2 separate regions of the Homo sapiens genome follow, and region 2 is linked to region 1. Evidence: promoter capture Hi-C in 16 types of primary human blood cells and fetal thymus (Javierre and others, 2016). All regions are on one chromosome and are shown on one strand. The core of a region is centred on a gene start or on the middle of the fragment in contact, and the rest is flanking DNA. Distances in the headings are between cores, read along the strand shown.

Region 1 (4,728 bases), core at 774-3,273:
TCCCAGCACTTTGGGAAGCCGAGGCGGACGGATCACGAGGTCAGATCGAGACCATCCTGGCTAACACGGTGAAACCCCATCTCCACTAAAAAATACAAAAAATTAGCCGGGCGTGGTGGCGGGCGCCTGTAGTCCCAGCTACTCAGGAGGCCGAAGTTGCAGTGAGCCGAGATCATGCCACTGCACTCCAGCCTGGGTGACAGAGCGAGGCTCCGTCTCAAAAAGTAAAAATAAAAATAAAACAGGTAACTAATACCTAATAAAGCTTGAAAACTTTCAAACTAAGTTAAAAATAAAAAGAGCTTGACATCCGACTGTGAGGCCAGCTGTGCTGTCTGCTCCAGGTGTGGCTGCCACAATTCACTTGTGGTCCCTCATAGGCCTCTGGGGAGGGTGCAGCTGGAAGGGCTACAGAAACCCACCCAGTAGCCCTAGAAAGTGGCCTGGTCAGGGCCCCAGCCCCACTCAGCCCCATCCATCTCTCAAGTGGGCCCCCAGCCCACCCTCTCCATGAGGCAGGCCTGGGCGCCTCCACCCGACACCTGCCTCCAGTTCTTCTGGGCCCAGGCAGCTGCATCCTCAAACCAGGATGTGGAGGGTCACCCCTCTTGTATCCCCAGAGTGGCAAACCTGGCCAGCCACTGGCCATCTGTCCTCCCAGGGCTGCGTCTGCCCCCGTGTCCTCCAGAGGTACCCCCTTGAAATCCCCCTCCAGCCACTGCACACCCCACCTCCCACCTGTCCGTCATCCAATCAGCTGAGAGAGGGACCTTCCAGAGCCCCAGCTAGCACCTGGGGCCCAGCCCAGCACCCCCCTGGACAACTCTGAGCGTCCCACCTGCACTGCACAGAGGCCCTCCCCAGCCTCTGCCCCTGTGGCGCCCCCAAACTGGAACTGCCTCCAAATCCGCCTGTTCTCTCCACACCCACCTTCCAAGGCCTAGTGCAGTGCCACCCTCCACACAGCCCCTCCGACCCCTTCCGTTGGACTCAATCAACAGTTGCCTTCTCCTGGCCACTGCCCCCAACCACGACAAGCAAGGGCTGCTTGGCCTTGCAACCCCCAGGCACGTGACGGTTCAGGACTTGGTGGGCCGGAGCATCCCTTGCCCAAGGTTCTGAACTTGGGTTCCCGTCACCTGCAAGTCAGTGCCGGCGGCGCCCCTAAGCGCGCTCAGCCCACGCCGCGGTCCCTCTGGATGAGGACCGGCGCCTCTCCCCAGCTGCGCCCAGGCGCTTTCGGGGCCTCGGGGAGCTGGCGGAGGCCTCCTCCTGACCTCCCAGCAAGCCCTGCGCAGGAGAGGATGCGGCCGGCCGGCCCGAGCAGCCTCACCGAGCGGCAGCAGCGAGTGGCACAACAGCGTGGCGGCCGTGCGGCGCAAGTGGAAGGGCACGAAGGCGGCGTCCTCGCTGCCCAGCCAGCCCGACAGCAGGTTCTGCACCGTGAGCCCCGCCGCGTGGAACTCGTTGGGCGTGAACACGAAGCACACGGCGAACACCAGATAGGCGAGAGTGAAGGTCACCTCGGGGCTGTCCATCGCGCAGCCGCCGGGAAGCTGTCGAGCTAGGCCCCCGCCCCGGCGCGCGGACGAGGCCGCAGCGCCCAGTCCCGGACCTGTCGGTTGCGGCGGCCGCCGCCCGGCCGCCCGCGGGGCACTCTAGGACATGGAGTCCCGCCGCCCGGCCGCCCGCGGGGCACTCTAGGACATGGAGTCCCGCCGCCCGGCCGCCCGCGGGGCACTCTAGGACATGGAGTCCCGCCGCCCGGCCGCCCGCGGGGCACTCTAGGGCATGGAGTCCCGCCGCTCGGCCGCTCGCGGGGCGCTCTGGGAGATGCAGTCCCCGTGCGGGTGCGGCCTCTCTTCTCGGCCGGCCCTGGAGGCGGCACCGCACCTGTGCATTGAGCACAGGTGGGGAAACTTAGGCCTGAGCGAGGCCCTGGCCATGAAGCCCCGCCCAGTAGCGTCAGTTGCGGAACTCGAAATTCATGGGGCGACTGCGAGCCCGGGGTCTCAGCTTCAGACACCCTGGCGTGCCCTCCACTCCGGAAACGGAACCGTCGGCGCCCGAGCGGGGGGTGGGGGGGGAGGGAGGGCGGAGCCGGCGAGGCACAGCTTCCCATTGGACGCCCGCCCTCCTGCGGTCCTGCCCCCGGCCGCGCGCTGATTGGCCGCGCGAAGGCAACCGTCGGCGTTTGAAACTCCGGCGCGCCGGCGGCCATCAAGGGCTAGAAGCGCGACGGCGGTAGCAGCTAGGCTTGGCCCCCGGCGTGGAGCAGACGCGGACCCCTCCTTCCTGGCGGCGGCGGCGCGGGCTCAGAGCCCGGCAACGGGCGGGCGGGCAGGTAGGAGAGCGGCTACACGGCGCGGGGAGGCTGGGGTCCTGGGGGCGCGAGGCCGTCCCGCCCCGCCCCGCCCTCGGCCCTCGCCCTCCCGCCCCGGCCGCCGCTTTCCCCGGGAAGCGTCCCCCACGGCTCCTCCTGGGGCCGCCGCCAGAACCTGTACCGCGCCCTGTCATGGGACCCGGCCCTAGACCGACCGCCGGGCTGGGCCCCCTGGATGGTGGCCAGGGGCGGCTAGAGCTGGGCCAAGACCGACGGCGGAGCGGGCGCCCCGAGGTGCTTTGCTCTCCTCGACCCTCTCCTGTCTCTCGGTCGCCCACCTTGGCTCTTTGTTGGCTCCCAGCACGCGGACCCTCCTGTTGTTCTTTGGTCCCTTCCGGCCTCCGTCCTGGGGCCAACTCCATCTAGGCCGCCTGCGGCGGACACCTGGGCCCCTACCGCTTCCCCGCACCTGCTGCGCCGCTCCACCTTCCCCCCGCACCGCATCCCTCTTGTGCACCAGAGTAGCACCAAAGCACCAGCCTGGGGCCGGTCCCTTCTCTGCCCAGAGCCCCTCCCGGGCCTCCATAGTCAGTAAAGGCCCCTCCTGACTAAGGCTGGGTCTGCTGCTCTCCCGAGCTCCTCCAGGCCGCCAGAAGGCTTCCTCCGAGTCACTTTCTCCCTGAGTTCGAGGCTTGCGGGTCCCCCAGCGATCCAGCACCCCTTCCCCTGCCCTGTACCCAGTTATTCAGGGCGAAAACCTAAGCGTCGTCCGTAAGTCCCATATGTGCCAGTGGCCAGGCCCGGGTCTGGTCTGGCATCTACTCCTTGGGCTCCAGAAGCCTGTGGTTTCCCTGCTTCCCTTCTGCTCTTAACCTCCCCACCCACACACAGCACCACAGTGGGCTTCTCAAGCTGCAGCACCGACCTGCCGGGGCTGCCCCCTCTCTCTTCTCCAGGACCCTCCCCAACTTTGCTCTTCTTCAAATCAAAGCCTCCCCAGGTCCCCCTCCACCACCAGGTGCCTGTGGGGTTCCTGCCCTGGTCGACACTCGGTTCTCTCTGGCAGCCTTTTTCCCTACGTCATTCCCTAGACTGGGAACGCTGTAGACAGAAAGGGTGGCAAGTGTGTGGGTGACCGGCGTGAGGACCTGGGCAGCCCTGGAACCTGGGACTGACTGGAGGCTCTGATGTGGAAGTTCCTTGGCACCTGTTGCTCAGCTCTGGGCTTCCCTTGTTTGCGCATCGTCTCCCAGCTCCTCCTCTGGGCCTTCACCCTCTCAGCCTGGTCTTGTCCCGCTGCCTAGCCCGGTGGGAGAGAGCAGACCAGAGCCGCTGTCCTGCTTTTCTGCCCTCTACTGCCCGGTCCTGCCTCACGTCACACGCAGAGGCCTGTGGGGAGACCAGGGCTTCCTCTGGCTCATCCGGGTTTCTTATTGGCCCGGGCTTTTCCGTCTCTTGACTTCTGCTTGATATAGTAATACAGCAGTAGAGATTATGCAGGCTTGGGTTTTCTTTCTCACCATCTCAGCCTGAAGGCCCTTTAGCTCTTGGTCCCAGGAAGCAGCAGTGCTGCCCATGGCTCCCCCTGCCAGGCTGGAGAGTGAGTCTCTGAAGCAAGATGGGGACTCAGTCTGAGGCTTTCTCTGCCAAGAGACACGTGTGGGAGGTGTGAGTTCCAGAGCAATGAGCACACCTGTGTGGGAAGTGGTCGTGCCCCTTGCAGCAGCTGTCACGTCTGTGTCTGGACAATGTGGTAGTGTTGCCCTCACACTGACACAAACATGTTCTGCTTTTCCAGAATGAGTCTGCAGGTCTTAAACGACAAAAATGTCAGCAATGAAAAAAATACAGAAAATTGCGACTTCCTGTTTTCGCCACCAGAAGTTACCGGAAGATCGTCTGTTCTTCGTGTGTCACAGAAAGAAAATGTGCCACCCAAGAACCTGGCCAAAGCTATGAAGGTAAGTGTGACCTGTACAGTGTGTGGCTGGCCAGGTTGCCCTAGGGCCTGCTTTCTTGGTGACCTCTGAGCTGCAGGACACTGCTGGTGTGGCTGTAACAGCTTGAACTAATGAATAGGTGCTCTCCTCCTCACTCCGCAACAGGTGACTTTTCAGACACCTCTGCGGGATCCACAGACGCACAGGATTCTAAGTCCTAGCATGGCCAGCAAACTTGAGGCTCCTTTCACTCAGGATGACACCCTTGGACTGGAAAACTCACACCCGGTCTGGACACAGAAAGAGAAGTAAGTGTTGGTGCTGCTGGACATGCTGGAGCTTCACCCTCTCTGTCCGATGGTTCTTGCAGGAAAGTGCTGTCTTGTTCTATCAGGCCTTGGCTGGATTTTTTGTTTGTTTGTTTGAGATGGAGTCTCGCTCTGTTGCCCACGCTGGAGTGCAGTG
Region 2 (4,728 bases), core at 1,456-3,955, 180 kb after region 1:
TGTAATTTTTGTGATACTAAAACTGCCTTCTGTGACCTGAATTATTATAAAAACATCATAAATTGCTTACAAAGAAAATCAGACCCCACAAAGCTGTAGAGGTCCTGGCATACCTATCCTAGGTTTTAAATGTAATTGCTTTTTCTTTCTTTTTTCTTTTTTTTAATACCATAGTGTTCTAAGAACGGAAGCATCTGGGCTGGATGGAATTTAGCATCAAGCAGAGTCCCCTTTCTGTTCAGAGTGTTGTAAAGTGCATAAAGATGAAGCAGGCACCAGAAATCCTCGGCAGTGCCAACGGGAAGACTCCGAGCTGCGAGGTGAACCGCGAGTGTTCTGTGTTCCTCAGCAAAGCCCAGCTCTCCAGTAGCCTGCAGGAGGGGGTCATGCAGAAGTTTAACGGCCACGACGCCCTGCCCTTTATTCCAGCCGACAAGCTGAAAGATCTTACTTCCCGGGTGTTTAATGGAGAACCCGGCGCACACGATGCCAAACTGCGTTTTGAGTCCCAGGAAATGAAAGGGATTGGGACACCCCCTAACACTACCCCTATCAAAAATGGCTCTCCAGAAATTAAGCTGAAAATCACCAAAACATACATGAATGGGAAGCCTCTCTTTGAATCTTCCATTTGTGGTGACAGTGCTGCTGATGTGTCTCAGTCAGAAGAAAATGGACAAAAACCAGAAAACAAGGCGAGAAGGAACAGGAAGAGGAGCATAAAATATGACTCCTTGCTGGAGCAGGGCCTTGTCGAAGCAGCTCTTGTGTCTAAGATCTCAAGTCCTTCAGATAAAAAGGTATTTAGGAGACGTTGTGTAAGGGGTCATGTGACCTTGAGCAGTGAGCATGGCCACCCTATGAGGGCACCTGCACGAGTACTGGGGCGGGCGGAGAAGGTGAGGACAGGCCTGGTACTTCCAGCCACTTGCCTGAGCCCTGGCTTTGGGTTGGAGGGTGGGCTCCAGGATGCCCTGGCACTGCCTCCTCAGTTCTCAGCTGGCTGCTGAGCCAGTTGAGAGGTCTAGAGAGGTGAGCTAAGTGTTCAAGATTCAAATGGCTAAAAAGAGGCAAAGCTTGTTTCTTAACGTGGTTCTGCCAGTTTCAGAGCCCTTGCTTGACAACGTCAGGCTACACTCTTTTCATGGATCTCATCTCCAAGGTGTTCTTTAGCCTGATGTGGTCAGTGGAGACAGGCTGGGCTCTAGAGTGTGACTTCTTAAGTCTGCACCATCTGATGAGTGGGAAGCAGAGCTGTGCAGAGGTGCTCCCGCTGTCCTTACCCTGTGGTCCAGTGTCCACTTACTGTCTCCTCAGCCAGGTGGTCCAGCAGATGGCCTGCCTCCCTGAGGCCTAGGGATGTGTCTTTTGCCTCCTGTTCTTGGTTCCCAGTGCAGAGCCCAGCACACTGAACACAAGCGAATGAGTGTTTCCTTATCCTAACTTGCGATGGAAAGGTGTGGTGGTGCTGCTCCATTCTGCCTGGTGATGGTGTCTCCACGCCTTCACGTGGCACTCGGGATGGCCCTGACACTCGGATGAGTATAAGCCATAGGAAACAACCAAGGGGCCATGGCTTTGGCAGAAGGAAGGAACTCTTGATGGGGCAGCAGTCTCTGTTCATCTGGTGGTCTATAGGGTGTTGCTTTTTAGTTGTAACTCCTTGAAATTGTTAAAATAATGAAGAGCTTTGAGGGTTAAAAAAACGTTTTTTGATTACTCAGGAGCTGTTTAGTTCTCGCTCATGTAATGGCAGTGGTGAAGTTTTTAAATTTTATTTATTTATTTATTTATTTTGAGATGGTCTCTGTTGTCCAGGCTAGAGGGCAGTGGTGTGATCATGGCTCACAACAGCCTTGACCTCCCAGGCTTAGGTGATCCTCCTACCTCACCCTCCTGAGTAGTTGGACCACAGGTGTGCACCACTATATGCCCAGTTAATTTTTTATTTTTTGTAGGACAGGGTCTTGCTGTGTTGCCCAGGCTGGTCTCAAACCCCTGGGCTCAAACGATCCTCCCACCTCTGCCTCCTGAAGTGCTCGAGTTACAGGTATGAGCTACCATGCCCAGCCTACAAAGATTTTTTGAAGTGCCCACAGCAGTATTGAACCTCATGCTTTTGCTTGGGAAGAGGCCTGTGCAAGTTGTCAGAGTCCTAGCTGTTTTGTTTTGAGACAGGGTCTTGGTATGTTGCACAGGCTGTTCACGAACTCCTGACCTCAAACGATGTTCCTGCATCAGAGCTGGCTTTTTCTTTCTCCTCCAACTGAAAAACAAACCAAACAAAAAAATCTGGCTTTTATTCCTAGCCATGTCCCTTGGTTTTGTTAAAACTTGAGTAACTCAACCTGAATTTTGACTCTTCCTCTGGAGAGTGGGGTCAATAAATGTAAACCTGGGTTGCTGTGCAGTAATCTGGTAGCTGTTCTGAAAGTATGTCAGGCCTGATGGGGTGGCTCACATCTGTAATCCCAGCACTTTGGGAGGCTGAGGCAGGAAGATTGCTTGAGCCCAGGAGTTCAAGACTAGCCTGGGCAACATAGCGAGACCCGGTCTCTATAAAAAATAAAATTAGCTGGGCGTGGTGGCACTGCCTGTGGTCCCAGCTACTAGGGAGGCTGAGATGGGAGGATCAAAAAAACATGAAAATGTGTCATGTGGCAGCTCATGCCAGGCTTCACCAGCATGCTTATGGCAAGGTTTTGGGCCGGCCTCTTCAGCTTACAGGTGAGAAAACTGAGGCCTGAGGCAGTGGAACAATTTACTCATGTGTATAGTGCTCTTGAGCAAGGCTAGAGATTCACCCTTGGAGGGTTGGGGCCATGCTGGCTGTGCTTATTTCCACTGGAGAGCAGAACTGTGAGTGGCTTGTGGGGAGGAGTTTTTCTTTGGTGGAATGTTCAGCCTTAACCTACCCATTATGTTCTAGAGATGGAGAAATTGAGGCTCAGAGAGCCCCAAGGACTCAAATTACATGTGATGGAGCCGAGACTTGCTCCTAGTCCTCCTGGTGCCCTTGCCCTCACCACACTGGGATGGTTCATGTTGGTGACACATGGGCTGCTGAGAACTGATCGTCAGACATGACTGGAGGGGCAGAAGTCAGTATGGATTTGGAATTCTGTGAGAATTCCTTTTCGACCAGTTGAATAAAGTACCATTAAAGACCGTCTATTAATACTAGGCCAAGGAAATAGATTTATATAGAGATCTTCAAAATGTTGAACACCTGCTGTGTGCTATGCACTGTCCTGATCCTTTAGCTGAGAGTGAGAGAGAAATTTTTTTTTTTTTTTTTTTTGAGATGGAGTCTCGCCCTGTCGCCCAGGCTGGAGTGCAGTGGCGTGATCTCGGCTCACTGCAAGCTCCGCCTCCCGGGTTCACGCCATTCTCCTGCCTCAGCTTCCTGAGTAGCTGGGATTACAGGCGCCTGCCACCACGCCCGGCTAATTTTTTGTATTTTTAGTAGAGACAGGGTTTCATTGTGTTAGCCAGGATGGTCTTGATCTCCTGAACTCGTGATCCGCCCACGTTGGCCTCCCAAAGTGCTGGGACTACAGGCGTGAGCCACCGCACCTGGCCTGAGAGACAAAATTTTGATGAAACGATGTTGAGGCTATCATCTAAAACACAGCAAGGGAGCACACTCCATTTTTGGGGGTCTGTGTGTATTTGGACATTGTAGCCTGGTGAATCCTTGGTCTTCTGGATACACAGGTAGTGATTGGATGTGTTAGTGTTTGTCTTCTGTTGTTCATTTTCAGATTCCAGCTAAGAAAGAGTCTTGTCCAAACACTGGAAGAGACAAAGACCACCTGTTGAAATACAACGTTGGTGATTTGGTGTGGTCCAAAGTGTCGGGTTACCCTTGGTGGCCTTGCATGGTTTCTGCAGATCCACTCCTTCACAGCTATACCAAACTTAAAGGTATTGTGTTCTTTGGGTTGTTTTTCCAACTTTCTCTTCTGCACTTAATCTTTCTCATCTCCAGGCTTCTTTCTTACTCTTTCTAAATAGCCCTGCTATGGTTCATTTTTGCAGCTTTACCTAAAGTTAGTGATTGATTCAAGTGTGATGTGTTGCCATTTCTTTTTATATTCAACTCAAATATGTACTTCATCTGATTGAATTAGTGTTAAGGGACACATGACCTTTGCCTTGTATAACTTCTGTTTTTATGATAGTTTATTATTTAGTTACGATGATTGCTTGTTTCAGGATGATTTGCAGCAAGAGTGTTTTATGCTAAGTTTAAGTTGTAAAAATGTCCAAGTGAATTTTATTAGGCCTATGGGAAGAATGGAAAACACTGGAAGTGATCATCTTTGTCTTATGAAGCTTGGGTAGATAAATTGATTTTTACATGGAGCGGCTGATGTAACATATTAAGAATGTACGGCCGGGCACGGTGGCTCACGCCTGTAATCCCAACACTTTGGGAGGCCGAGGTGGGTGGATCACTTGAGGTCAGGAGTTCGAGACTAGCCTGACCAACATGGTCAAACCGCGTCTCTACTAAAAATACAAAATTAGCCGGACGTGGTGGTGCACGCCTGTAATCCCAGCTACTCAGGAGGCTGAGGCAGGAGAATCGCTAGAACCCGGGAGGTGGAGGTTGCAGTGAGCCGAGATCGCGCCATTGCACTCTAGTCTGGGCAACAACAGCGAAACTCTGTCTCACAAAAAAAAAAAGAATGTTATATGTCCCTGATACAGAGCAAATAATGG

What was found. Contacts are between HindIII fragments. The CHiCAGO score rates a contact against its expected background, and 5 or more counts as called.
Region 2: a fragment that was not itself captured here is called in contact with the fragment with the promoter of TMEM129 in region 1 in 10 of 17 cell types (activated CD4 T cells, naive CD8 T cells, total CD4 T cells and 7 more); the score reaches 7.2 in activated CD4 T cells.

Annotation. Positions count from the first base shown.
Region 1 is chr4:1,719,300-1,724,027 of GRCh38, forward strand. TMEM129 (transmembrane protein 129, E3 ubiquitin ligase) reads right to left here and starts at 2,024. Exons shown (of 4, transcript NM_001127266.2): 1 at 1,334-2,024. The coding sequence starts at 1,538. It overlaps TACC3 (transforming acidic coiled-coil containing protein 3), which reads left to right and starts at 2,222. Exons shown (of 16, transcript NM_006342.3): 1 at 2,222-2,344; 2 at 4,122-4,284; 3 at 4,429-4,571. The coding sequence starts at 4,123. RefSeq lists enhancers at 155-234, 875-974, 2,057-3,052 and silencers at 1,565-1,614, 1,625-2,434. The HindIII fragment of the contact is 17,725 bases long and covers 264-4,728 here.
Region 2 is chr4:1,900,452-1,905,179 of GRCh38, forward strand. It overlaps NSD2 (nuclear receptor binding SET domain protein 2), which reads left to right. Exons shown (of 22, transcript NM_001042424.3): 2 at 175-800; 3 at 3,765-3,927. The coding sequence starts at 204. Among named protein-coding and RNA genes, the nearest start is that of NSD2, 31 kb to the left of the region's middle. The HindIII fragment of the contact is 3,262 bases long and covers 1,075-4,336 here.